Linked DNA regions of Homo sapiens: all the other regions are linked to region 2. The links are contacts of gene promoters, found by promoter capture Hi-C in blood cells and fetal thymus (Javierre and others, 2016). All regions are on one chromosome and are shown on one strand. The core of a region is centred on a gene start or on the middle of the fragment in contact, and the rest is flanking DNA. Distances in the headings are between cores, read along the strand shown. Region 1 overlaps RNF19B (ring finger protein 19B). Region 2 holds the start of ZNF362 (zinc finger protein 362). Region 3 overlaps CSMD2 (CUB and Sushi multiple domains 2).

Region 1 (4,366 bases), core at 1,427-3,926, 300 kb after region 2:
TGCTGGGATTACAGGCGTGAGCCACCACGCCCGGCCATCTCCAACCATCTTTTGATTTTATTTTCTATTTTTCACTCACATCACTATTTCCTAAGGTATGTTATAGGCATTACTTGAAAGAAAAATGTTTTGTGAGGAAATAAGCTTGGAAAATACTGAGTTAAACAAAATAAAACAAGTTTATGAGTTTCTTAAATCTTTAAACATGCTAATATGCTAATATGTAGTATAAATCTTCAATATAATGTAATTTCCCCAATTTAGATCACCAGGAAACAGGTTTTTGTTTTTTCTGTAGCATCTTTAAGGCTTAACTCAAACTTTCCCTAAACTCCTTTAATAGTTACCATGCTGGCCTGCCTTTGGTTAGTGTCCTTATTTAACCATAAACCTTATGCTCTGAATAGATTGAGAGCTCATGTCTCTAGACTAGGATATCTATATTCCAACCATTTCTACAACTCTGTGTACAAAGTCTTTCAATTAGGCTCTAGAAGAGTGTGGTACATAGATGAATTTTGATGAAAAAGATAAGAAATATGAGCAGCATAGTTCTCAGAGGAAGAATAGAGATGAAAGAGATAAGCAAGAATAGTATAGACAGGTGATCATTCAATTCAACAGACAACTTTTTTTTGAGATGGAGTCTCGCTTTGTCGCCCAGGCTGGAGTGCAGTTGTGCCATCTCAGCTCACTGCAACCTCTGCCTCTCGGGTTCAAGCGATTCTTCTGCCTCAGCCTCCCAAGTATCTGGGATTACAGGCATGTGCCACAATGTCCAGCTAATGTTTGTATTTTTAGTAGAAACAGGGTTTCACCATGTTGGCCAGGCTGGGCTTGAATTCCTGACTTCAAGCGAGCCACCCGCCTCACCCTCCCAAAGTGCTGGGATTACAGGTGTGAGCCACCACACCTGGCTTCAACAGATACTTTCAGAATGATACACTGTTGAACCCTGGGTGAGTACTGGGTATTTCAAAAAGAACTTAGACATGGTTTTCTTGATAGGAAGTTTCACCTGGTAGAGGAGACAGATAATTGATACATAGATAGATAGAAAATTATTCAAATGTCATATGATAAATACTAAAGAAAATACGGGTGCTCTTAGATAGATGAAAGAACAATAGAATTTGCATGATGGTTTCAAGAAAGACTTCACAGAGGAGCAGGCATGGTGGTGTGCACCTGTGGTCCCAGCTGCTTAGGAGGCTGAGGTGGGAGGATTAGTTGAGCCCAGGAGTTCGAGACCAGCCTGGGTAATAGCAAGACCCCATACCTGGGAAATGACTAGAGATCAACCTGAAAACGTGGACTGGATTCAGGTTGATAGGCCTGTGTAAGCCATGGAAATAAGTTTTGGGTTGAAGCACTTTTTTTCTTTTTTCTTTTTCTTTGAAGGATTTTAAGCAAAAGAGTAACCTTCCAGAATGGAATTTGGATGGAGTGGGGAATAGGGAGAGCAGATAAGGAGGCTCTTGGAGTTGTCTAGCCTAGAGATGGGTCTTAAATAGGGCAGGAAAAATGAAGATGTTAAGGGTACAGTTCATTGTGACAAGTTGGCGCATGTCTACCACCCTGATGCCTACTAGGGGTCTATTTGTAAATGGGTAGCCTAGTTATGTTACATGACTTGGGGATGGAAAGTACAGACATAATATAGGAACACATTTCTTTAACCACTGAAGTCTATTGGAGCATAATCAAATTTATACTAATGGAAATCTCTTTCCAGGGCTGAAGCTAAGTAATGCTGTGGTCTAGCTTGTCACTTTATGAAGTTTCTGAAGATTTAGGAAATTAATAAAATGAGTAAAAGTTGTATGAACTTAAGCAGCAGGGGCTGGGGTGGGCGGTCTGTAGTCTTTTTCTTTTTTATTATTTTTTATTTTTTTGAGATAGGGTTTAACTCTGTAACTCTGTTGCCCGTGCTGGAGTGCAGTGGTGCAATTTCAGCTCACTAGAACCTCAACCTCCCAGGCTCAGGTGATCCTCCCACCTCAGCCTCCTAAGTAGCTGGGACTGCAGGCATGTGCCACCACACGCCACCGCGCCCCACCACACTCGGCTAATTTTTGTTGTTGTTGTTATTTGAAGAGAGAGTCTCACTCTGTCACCCAGGCTGGAGTGCAGTGGTGCAATCTCGGCTCACAGCAACCTCTGCCTCCTGGATTCAAGTGATTCTCCTGCCTCAGCCTCCCGAGTAGCTGGGAGTAGCTGGGACTACAAGTGCACGCCACCATGCCCAGCTAATTTTTTTGTATTTTTAGTAGAGAGGGGTTTTGTCAGGTTGGCCAGGCTGGTCTCGAACTCCTGACCTCAGGTGATCCACCCACCTCAGCCTCCCAAAGTGCTGGGATTACAGGCATGAGCCACCATGCCCGGCCTAATTTTTGTGTCTTTCGTAGAGATGGGATTTCACCATGTTGCCCTGGCTGGTCTTGAACTCTTGGGTTCAAGTGATCCTCCTGCCTTTGCCTGACAAAGTTCTGGGGTTATGGGCATGAGCCACTGCACCCAGCTGTGTCTGTATTCTTCACAGCATGTAATTTTCTACACCTTTCTTTTAGCTTCTGATTAGCAAGCCTGACTGATTGGTTAAGCTAAAAGAGCAGAGTAGGAGAGATGCACCAGCATGGGACGTGGAAGAGAAGGAACAAAGTGGACAGGGCAGATTGGGTTTCAAGGATGAGGTATTTTCTTTTCTTTTTTTTTTTTTTTTGAGACAGGGTTTAGCTCTGTCTCCCAGGCTGGAGTGCAGTGGCACGATCTTGGCTCACTGCAGCCTCCACCTCCCGGGCTGTAGCCGTCCTCCCACCTCAGCCTCCTGAGTAGCTGGGACTACAGGCATGCACTACAGGCATGCACCACCACGCCTAGCTAATTTTTGTATTTTTTTTTTTTGTAGAGATGGGGTTTTGCCATGTTGCCCAGACTGGTCTCGAACTCCTGAGCTCAAGCAATCCACCCACCTTGGCTTCCCAAAGTGCTGGGATTACAGGTGTGATCCACCATGCCCAGGCGAGGTTTTTTTTTTCCAACTATTCGGGAAGAAGATTACCGTATTCAGAACTTAGGGGTTTACCACTAAAGTGGGTTTATATGAAATTTTAGGATTAGGTTATAGTACCTGGCATATAATAAGCCAATAGATACATGGATACATTGAAAAGATTGCTTTAGAGCAGAGTGATGGCCTAGGAGAAGACCTAGAATGTCCTAGGGAAGGTCAAACAACCAAAACAAGAGAGGGTCTCTGTCATTCATGCAACACAGGTATTTTGAGCATGAACCAGTATACTAGACTGAGATTAAAAAGTGGATGATATGTCTCCTTAAGTCCAGTGTGGTTTGGAAGGCAAGCATATAAACAGTTAGTTACATTATAATGTAAGTGTTATAAAATAATTGTGCACACCCACGAAGTAGGCAACGAGCTGCCTAGAGAGGTTAAGTATATTTTACAGAGAAAATGACACCTGAGTTGGTTCTTAAATGGGTACTTGTCAGGGCAAGAAGTAAGGACAAGACATTTCTAGGTAGAAGGAATAGAGTATGTAAAAGCCAGAAAGTAGGACAGAGTGTACGATGTTTTTACGCCATATATCTTTGAGGACAAGGTCTCACATGCAGTTTTAGAACGTGTTTAGCTACGTTTGAATGTGACAAGTACCTATACCTCCATTTGGTGGAATAGAAGCTAAGGTTTGGAGATTGTTTTTTTTTTTTTTTGAGATGGAATTCCTCTTTTGTTGCCCAGGCTGGAGTGCAGTGGTGTGGTCTTGGCTCACTGCAACCTCCGCCTCCCAGTTTCAAGCAATTCTCCTGCCTCAGCCTCCCGAGTAGCTGGATTACAGGCATGCGCCACCATGCCTGGCTAATTTTTGTATTTTTAGTTGAGACGGGATTTCACCATGTTGGCCAGGCTGGTCTTGAACTCCTGACCTCAGGTGATCCACCTGCCTCGGCCTCCCAGAGTGCTGGGATTACAGGCGTGAGTGACTGCACCAGGCCGGTTTGGAGATTTTAATAGCTTCATGTCATGCAGCATGAGTCAGAGGCAAGAGCTCAGACCAGGTACCCAAAAACAGGAATGCCAAATCTCGTGCCCTGAGTAATTCTGTGTCGTAGTAATAGATTGCTGTGGATTCATGAGTAATTTGGGGTTATTTTACTTCCTTGGCACCAAATTACACACTCAAAATTGACATTGTTGATCCTATCCAATGTTCTTCTTTTTCAAGAAAAAAAAAAAAGTGGGCTGGGCACGGTGGCTCACACTTGTAATCCCAGCACTTTGGGAGGCTGAGGCAGGAGGATCACTTGAAGGCCAGGAGTTCGAGACCAGCCTGGCCAACATGGTGAA
Region 2 (4,425 bases), core at 709-3,208:
GCTTTCAACCCCCGACTCTGGCTTCTGGGAGCTCACTCTGTCTAGTGGAGCCAGGACACAAACCAGGAGTGAGACTAGAAGGGTCTCCCCTCCAAGAAATGCTGGGGTAGGGGACACATGAGAGGCTAGGCCCAACACTGCCCCAGTGCCTTGGACAGCACCAGTCACCCCAGACCTTGTGGGCCTGGCCTTCAGATCCCCCTCGGCAGCCTGCGGAGCCAGCAGGCCCTGACCTGTCCAGCAAGATACTTCAGGAACTTAACCGAAGTCCAAAGTGCTTCTACCTCCCGGGCGTAGGGCAGGAGTGGCAGAAAGGAATAAGAGCATACTACAGGGGTGAGGCTCACACCGAGGAGGTCTAGCAAACCAGACTACCTTTCCTGCCCCTTCCCTCAGACGGGACCCACTGGGCCGCAGGCCTGCACCCAACCAAAAGTTCATCATAGGGTGGGGTCGGGGAAGACATTACCACCAGCTGCCACCTCTGGGGGCAGGAGGACCACCAGGTTGGGGAGGGGGCTCTCCAACTGCAAAGGGCCAAGCTCACTTGCCTCAGGGTCCAAGGGTCACCCCAGGGCTTGGGCGAGATTCCAGCCTACACGGGGGGTCCTGGCCACCCATGAAGGAGACAGGCCCACTGCCACACACACAGCTCCCGAAGGTTCCACACTGCTCGAGGGCAGGGTGGTGGGACAGCAGGATTATTTCCTCATGCCAGGGGTCTTTGCTGGAAATCCTGGACCCATTCTGAGCCCCTCTTGCCGGCCCTCTCCCCCAGATCTGAGGATCTAGCTCCTTACAATGCCATGTTTATAGAGCCCCTTCCAAATAAATGTTTCCCAGTTCCCCCAAAACTCCCATCCTCAACCCTCCACATCCGCCCCCCCACCCCCATCCCGCGCAGCTCTGAGGAAACCGGCAGTTAACTTTTCCCAAAAATCCTGCAAAGGCAGCTGGCTGGGGGAGAAATGGGCCTCGAGATCCTTTCGCGGCATTTCACCGCCTTCCAAAAAAAAAAAAAAAGAAAGAAAGAAAGAAAGAGAAGCAAAGCAAAGCAAACTTTCGGAGTTAACTTTAAATTCCCAGCCCTCCCCCCTCAAATCGCCCGGCAGCTTCCCTTTTTTTTTTTCTTTAAAGTGCAATTGCATTGTGTCTCACCTCCCCGAAAGGCTCGCGGCTCTCGCCAAAGAAAAGGAAAAAAGCCAACCCTTCGGGTGCCCCCTCTGCTTCCAGCCGCCTCTCCCACATTCTCAGACAGTTTTATTAAAATTTTCAGACAAAAGAAAAACAAAAATGGCAGCCTGGCTTATTTTTAAAACAGGACAGGGACGCCATATTCTGCAGATCTGCAAAAAAAGGGAGAAATCCGGCACTGGCTGCTCCACCGGGCCGGCTGCAAAGTGCGCGAACCGCGCCGTTTGCAATCCGTTTATTTGCATTATGCCCCATGAATCATTGTTTACCGGAGAATTGCAGCAGGGTTTGAATAGCCCGGCTTAAGAAAACACACACACACGCGCGCGCACACACACACACGCACACACACTCGGAGACCAGCCCCAGACACGCCGCGGGAGACACTTCCTACCCCGCGCGCCCCGCTGCCGCCGCCGCCGCCGCCGCTCTGGGCCGGGCCCGAGGCGCAGGCGGCCCCGGGCCCTCGGAGCGCCCCGGCCCGCGCTGACAGCGCCCGCGCCCCGGCCCGGCCCCCGCCCGCAACTCGGCGCAACTTTCCCGCGGGCAGGCGCCCGCCGCCGCTGGGCCCGCTCCCCGCGCGCCCCGGGCCCGCACGGACCTGGCTGTGCTGGCGGCGCCTCCGGGACGCGGCCGCAGCCCCGCGCCCGGCGGCCCGAGCAGGGCCGGGCTGGGGCTCCGGCACAGGCTCCGGGCTCGGGCTCCGGCTCTGGCTCGCTGCGGAGCCGCGCGCAAACCTTCCGGGTCGCCTGCTGTTCACTTCTGGGTTCTGCAAGCGCCGAGGCGGCGGCGGCGGCGGCGGCGGGAGGCTGGGTCTGCAGCGCCGCGCGGCCCCCAGTGCGCTCGGCGAGCCCCCGCGCCAGGCGCCCGGCTCCGGGGGGGCCGCGTCGGGCCCCCGCCTCTCCGGCTGCGCAGCCCGTCCGGCCCCGGGGGCTCCCGCGAGTGGGCAGCGCCGGGCGCTGGCGACTGCGCGAGAGGGGAGGGGGCCGGGCGGGGGGCGGGGGCGGGCCGCGCGCTGGGGCCCCCACTCGGGCCCCGGGGCCTCGTCTCGCGCTCGCCGTCGCCGCCGCCGCCGCCGCCGCCACCGCCTGGCAAAGTTGCGCTGCGCCCCCCGCCCGCGCCGCGCCGGAGGCAGAGCCACAAAGGAACTCCTCGCCCCCCTCCGCCCGCCTGAGCCGCGCGGGGAGGGCACCGGCGCCCGGCCCTAGGACAGCCCCTTCCCCAGCGCGGGGGCTCCCGGGGCCCCGGCGGCCGTGGCCATTGTCCTGCCCAGGCCCGGCGGCCGCCTCGCCACCCCACTCCTGGGTGATGGCAGGCTGGGGACTTGGGCCTGGCGGGCCACGGCCCTGACCAGGCCGAGCCCGCGCGGTGCCAGGCTGCCCCTGGGGGTCTCCCTCGAAGACGGCCGCCTGGAGGGGACCCCCAGGATGGACCCTCACCCCTGATAACGACCTGCTCAAAATCCAGGCCGATTTTTTTTTTAAGACGAGGACATAGGGGTGGGGAGTAGAAGTTTGCACAGGCCCAGCCACCCCTCCCTAGCCCTAGGCCGGATCCCCGACGGATGGGGCGGCCCGAAGCTGGCAGTGGCTCCTCTCGCAGAGTCTATCAGAGGTGGCACCGGCTGTCCCCCGGCTCCAGACCTCAGAGCCATCTGTGTGACTCCTCCTCCCGCCTCACCCTCCCCAGCCAATCAGTCACCAAGTCCTCCTGATTCGGCCTCCCGAGCTGTGTCAGCTTCCAAACTTACACTTCTACCTGAGGAGGCAGCCGGTTCCAGGATCCCTTCACCGGCTTAGATTTCTATGGCATCCACCACCCCCCGACCGCTGGGCCAGGATGGATCAGGGCTGGCCCTGCCCTCAGGGAGCGCACAGTCCCCCGGGAAGGGCACAGAGATAAACAATCATCTGCCAGCGTTTGTCCTCCAGGAAGCATTTCCAAATTCAGTAAATATTCATAGAGGACCTAGTAAACATCAACCACTGTTTTTAATAGCTGGTTGGCTGGAGCACAGCTATTAAAAAACTGGATAATGCCCCTGCCCTCACGAAGATTCTAGTCCAGCACAGGATGGCAAACACTGTGAGCAACTCGAAGACAGGGCCCATAGGGACTGCTTGTTCTCAATCCCCAAGCACAGTGCCTGGCACAGAGCAGGGGCACAAGAAATCTGTGTGGCATGAATTAGTTGGAATGTTAAAGCATGGCGGGAGAGCACAGAGGAGGCCACTCTTTCCTGGAGAGGTGGAGAGGGCTTCAGAAATTGGCTCTGGGGTGAGCGAGGTGGGGAAGAAAGGAAGGCCTTCCAGTTTCCAGAAATGACGATAATCAGAGGACCAACCCATTGTTGAGAAATTCAATGAGATAATAAATTAATAAACGGGAGAGAAGAGACAAATTGTCTGTGCAGAAGAATTCCAAATAATTTATGTAGACAATCAGGGAGGGGGAGCATCACTCCCTACTCTTTAGGAGTAGGCTGCAGATAGTGACGTCCTCCCCAAGCGCACAATATGGAAAGGGAGAGGAAAGGAGTAACTTTACAGGGAGAGAGCTGATGACTGCTACTCAGACAAGTGATCAAGGCCAAGATCAACAGCCACAAATCATGTTGATATGTGCTTGATACTATGTGATGAAAATGACACTTTACCTTTGTGGTCTTCCTCCCAATAACCCATAACCCCAGCCTTGTGAGAAAAACAGACAGACTCCAAGAGTGGGCTATCCAACAAAATTGCTGGCTGACCAGTACCCCTCAAAACTATCAAGGTCATCCAAATCAAGGAAAGTCCGAGAAACCATCACAGCCAGAGAGGAGCCTAAAGACACGGCCGGGTGCAGTGGCTTATGCCTGTAATTCCAGCACTTTGGGAGGCCGAGGCGGGAGGATCACCAGGTCAGACTTTAAGACCAGCCTGACCAACGTGGTGAAACCCCATCTCTACTAAAAATACAAAAATTAGCCAGGCGTGGCACGTGCCTGTAGTCTCAGCTACTCAGGAGTCTGAGGCAGAAGAATGGCTTGAACTCCAGAGGTGGAAGTTGCAGTGAGCCGAGATTGGGCCACTGCACTCCAGCCTGGGCAACAAGAGTGAAACTCTGTCTCAAAAAAAAAAAACAGACGAACTACTAAATGTAAAAGATATTAGGTAAAAACAATCTAAATAAACTATGGAATTTAGTTATTAATAACAATAATGTGTCAAGGAAAGTATCTACCAAGAA
Region 3 (3,867 bases), core at 950-3,449, 350 kb before region 2:
GTAAAAAAAAAAAAAAAAATCTAAACACTGTAGATAATTTTGTGAGCACATTGTGTTAGCTCAGGCTGCTGTAACAAAATACCATAAGCCAAGTGCCTTACAAACAGCAGAAATTTATTTCTCACAGTTCTGAGGGCTAGGAAGTCCAAGATCACAGTGCCAGCAGATTCCGTGTCTGGTGAAGACCCACTTTCTAGTTCATAGACAGTATCTTCTCACTGCGTCCTCACATGGTGGAAGGGGCAAAAGAGCTCTCTCAGGCCTCTTTTATAAGGGAACTAATCCCATTTAGGAGGGTGGGCCACCAAATGCCCTGCCTCCAAATACCCTCACATGAGGGATTAGGTTTCAACATAGGGATTTGATGGGACAGAAATATTCAGGCCCTAACACCCGTCACAGGAAGTCAAAATCCTCCCATAATCCCATCCTGTCACTACCCTATGCAGAGATACACACTTTCAACAATTCAATATGTATTCCCCGCTTTTCTCGGTATATATATTGCTGTAGCTATATTTTTAGCCAAAATTGGATCGTACTATAGTTTTCCAATTTTGTTTTTTAAAGTTAATTTTTAATTACACAAACAATTTACAAACATATTTATCTTTTAAAAAAAGAAAAATACAAGAAAGAAATTAAAACCTTACAAGTAAGGCCAAAGCTCTCTTTGTCTATAGCCTCCAAACCCAGGATTATTCTCCAGAAACGGCTACTATTGTTTAGTTGTGACCTTTCCAGGCCTGGATATATGTATGCTACATGTACCTGTGAAAAATATGTAACATTTTATAAAATTTTTTGACCACGTTTTCTATATAAATAGTACCATCCTATATGCAGCTTTCTGAGAGTTGACTTCTTTATTCTGGAAATAATATGGTGGGGATGGAGCTCCTCCCTTGCCAGAGAAGAATACTGAGGGGGTACTGGGCTTCTCATTTAGGGAAAGCCTTAAAGGGCATCCCACGAGGTGGGTGCAACTGAATCAGTTCTGCAGGAGACTTCAGGGTTCCGGGGTCCATCTCAGGGAAAGCTTTGGTAAGTGCGGCTGGGCTTGTCATCTAGAGGGAGCCTCAGGAGAAGCTGGGCCTTGCACCCAGACAGAGCCACTTCACTGGTGTTAGCACAGCTGCCACACCCAGGGAAGGTGTGTGCAGGCTCATCACAGAGGCCAGCCTTGCCCAAGGATGTCTGTGCCTATTATCTGGGAGGTGTGTACCTGTCAAACAGGTCATGACGCGTCGGATGGCCGTGATGTCACAGGAGGGACTTGGTCCCAAATATGTCCTCTCAGAGACAGATGCAACGCCTTCCCCCAAGGCTTTCCTGTGTCTTAGTTTGTTAGGGCTGCCATAAGAAAGTACCACAAACTGGGTGGCTTAAACAACGGAAACTTACTGTCCAATGGCTCTGGGGCTGGATGGTCAAGATCAAGGTGTCAGCAGAGTTGGTTCCTTCTGAGGCCCATGAGGGAGACTCTGTCCGGGCCCCTCCCCTGGCTTCTGGTAGTTCATGACAATCTTGGCATTCTCAGCTCTTAGAAGTATCACCCCGACCTCTGGCTTCATCTTCACATGGTGCTCTTCATGTGCCTCTGTCTCCAAATTCCCACCTTCTATAAAGACACCAGTCATATTGGATCAGAGCCCACCCTAGTGACCTCATTTTAATTTCCATAAGTTTGGTAAAGATCCTGTCTATTTCCCATAAGGTCATATTCACAAGGAGTGAAGTCTTCAGCATATGAATTTTGGGAGACATATTTCAGCCCCTTGCACCCCTCCCAGGCCCAAGTGCTCTCTCCCTGAGACCTTCCTTCTCGGATAAATATAAGGAATGGCAGTGCCACCATTGTGCCAGGGACAGCTGCCCTGGGCCCACCCCGTGCACTGTGCCTTCACCCTAGACAATGGGCACGGTCCTGCCACTGAATCCCTGTGATGGGACCAGCCACTCGCTGTGCTCCCCGTGTGATGAGCCCACTTGTCCTTGTAAAGGTTGTGCCTGTGTGACCGCCTCAGATTCTCCATTGACTCCCTCGACAGAAGAGGCCTAACTACCCCCACAGAGCCCTGGCCTTGGGCTCACTCGCCCCTGATTCCCCAGCCCCCATCTTTGGAAATGCTCCCACTATGGCCACCCTGCACAAGGGGCCCCGCTGTCCCCCTGAGGTTTCCTGGACGACAAGCCAACATTCGGGACTAGTGTCCCTCCCTGGGATGGGCCTGTCTCTCCCACTGAGGTTTGCAGCCTCCACAGGCCCAGTCCTCCTCTGATAACTTTCCCTGCGTAGGGAGGCCAGGGGGCAGCGAGTTGCCTTCAGACACCCAGCTCCTCCACCAGGAGTTGGCCCAACATGTGAGAGGCACAGCGACATCCAATGGGGCTTCCACCCTATAATGGGCCCCCTCCTCCCACAAGCATGTGACCTTCAGGACTTGCCTGGATGTTCCCCTTCAGTCCCAGGCACAGCCACTCCCTCAGCGTTCACCTGTCTGCCACAGTCCCAAGGACTCCTGTGGAGCCACACATGGTGCCGGGGCACCTGCTCCCCTCAGACTTGGGCTCCACCCCTATTAAGGCTTCTCGTTTGGGGCGATCCCAACCTCTTGGGCTAGGTTGCCTCTAGGGCCAGAGGCCTAAGTATTCCCACAGAGGCCTCATCATTTGTGATAGGCCCAAATAACTCTCCCTGACCATAAGCCCACACTCTCTGTTTACACCTTCCTCCGCCGTACGGAGCGGCACCTCGTAAGCAAGCTCTGACCACTCTCCCCAGGTTTTTCCTCTGGGGAAAAACCCAGCTTCAATGAACGAGCCATTTGTCCCCACTGAGGCTGTTTCTGTCAGACCCAGCTCTCTATGGCCCCTCGACTTTCCTTAGAAGTCCAACTCTTTACTCTTTCTCAAAATTCCTCCAACTGATACTCTGCACTTCCCATGCTAGGGTCTTCTTTTCTCTTCTTTAAGTAAAGATTCCCATCAAGTTCTTAGTAGCAGCATAAGCAACTCCTAGCCAGGCCTCCCGGTCCGACATGCTTAATGTGTTCCATGACAATTTCTCAGGAGGGTTCTGTTTATAAAGAACTTAGCAAAATGGCTAAGATGTACAATTGTCCCCAAATGCTAGGCATCATCATTATTAATGTTTTAAAATAATGGCATTTTGCTTGAAATTGTATCTACCTGATTATGGCACTTTGTTTGGAAGTGTGTTCCCACTGTCACCAGGTGTGTCCCTTTAGAACAAACCCACTTGCTTTCCTGAGGAGTCCTTCTTTGGGGAAGTTCATCCTTCCTCCTCTTAGGGTTTATTTCTGCCTTATATGGCCAACCTCTCCCTTTGAAGCTTCTTGCAGGGGAACAGGCTCTGAGGTTTCTCTCAGTGTTGAGGTACTCTCACTGAAGTTTCTGTCTTTTTGAAGAGCCTAGATCCTTCCACTGGAGATGATTCCTGTAGGAGAGGCCCAGCTGCTCTCATCAAGGCTGCTCCTGGCTTCCCACACACAGCCACTCCCTTCCTTCTCTCCCCGTCTCTGAGTCCACGTGGCTACCCTGAGCCTTTCTGTAAAGACCCAACCCATCCCATTGGGTTGCCTCCCTGGGCAAAAGGCCCCCTGCTTCCGCTGAGACTTTCGTTGCCAAACGGCCCAAACCCCCGTGCTGCAGGGCCAGGCCTGTCCTGGGGCTAAGCAGCCACCCCACCCATGTGGTTGCTCAGTTTTTGGCACACCCAATTACCTCAATGATTTCCCAGGGAAACCTGCCCAGTTCCTCCCCCTGAGACTTCCCTGTGAGGTACTGAATGGAAACATAACACAGCCACGTGAGTGCTCAGGAAATGTTATCTTCAAGATCCGC

Evidence for each region. Contacts are between HindIII fragments. The CHiCAGO score rates a contact against its expected background, and 5 or more counts as called.
Region 1: a contact is called between a fragment that was not itself captured here and the fragment with the promoter of ZNF362 in region 2, in 1 of 17 cell types (total CD8 T cells). The highest score is 5.6, in total CD8 T cells.
Region 3: a contact is called between a fragment that was not itself captured here and the fragment with the promoter of ZNF362 in region 2, in 2 of 17 cell types (M0 macrophages and M1 macrophages). The highest score is 7.1, in M0 macrophages.

The regions. Positions count from the first base shown.
Region 1 is chr1:32,954,105-32,958,470 of GRCh38, reverse strand. All of the region lies in intron 1 of RNF19B (ring finger protein 19B), which reads left to right. Among named protein-coding and RNA genes, the nearest start is that of RNF19B, 8.5 kb to the left of the region's middle. The HindIII fragment of the contact is 5,060 bases long and covers 147-4,366 here.
Region 2 is chr1:33,254,025-33,258,449 of GRCh38, reverse strand. It overlaps ZNF362 (zinc finger protein 362), which reads right to left and starts at 1,958. Exons shown (of 9, transcript NM_152493.3): 1 at 1,796-1,958. RefSeq lists an enhancer at 1,208-1,502 and silencers at 1,968-2,027, 2,470-2,569. The HindIII fragment of the contact is 6,922 bases long and covers 1-4,425 here.
Region 3 is chr1:33,606,379-33,610,245 of GRCh38, reverse strand. The region is part of intron 41 of CSMD2 (CUB and Sushi multiple domains 2); the gene reads left to right. Among named protein-coding and RNA genes, the nearest start is that of ZSCAN20, 140 kb to the right of the region's middle. RefSeq lists enhancers at 1,783-2,283, 2,284-2,784. The HindIII fragment of the contact is 2,316 bases long and covers 1,042-3,357 here.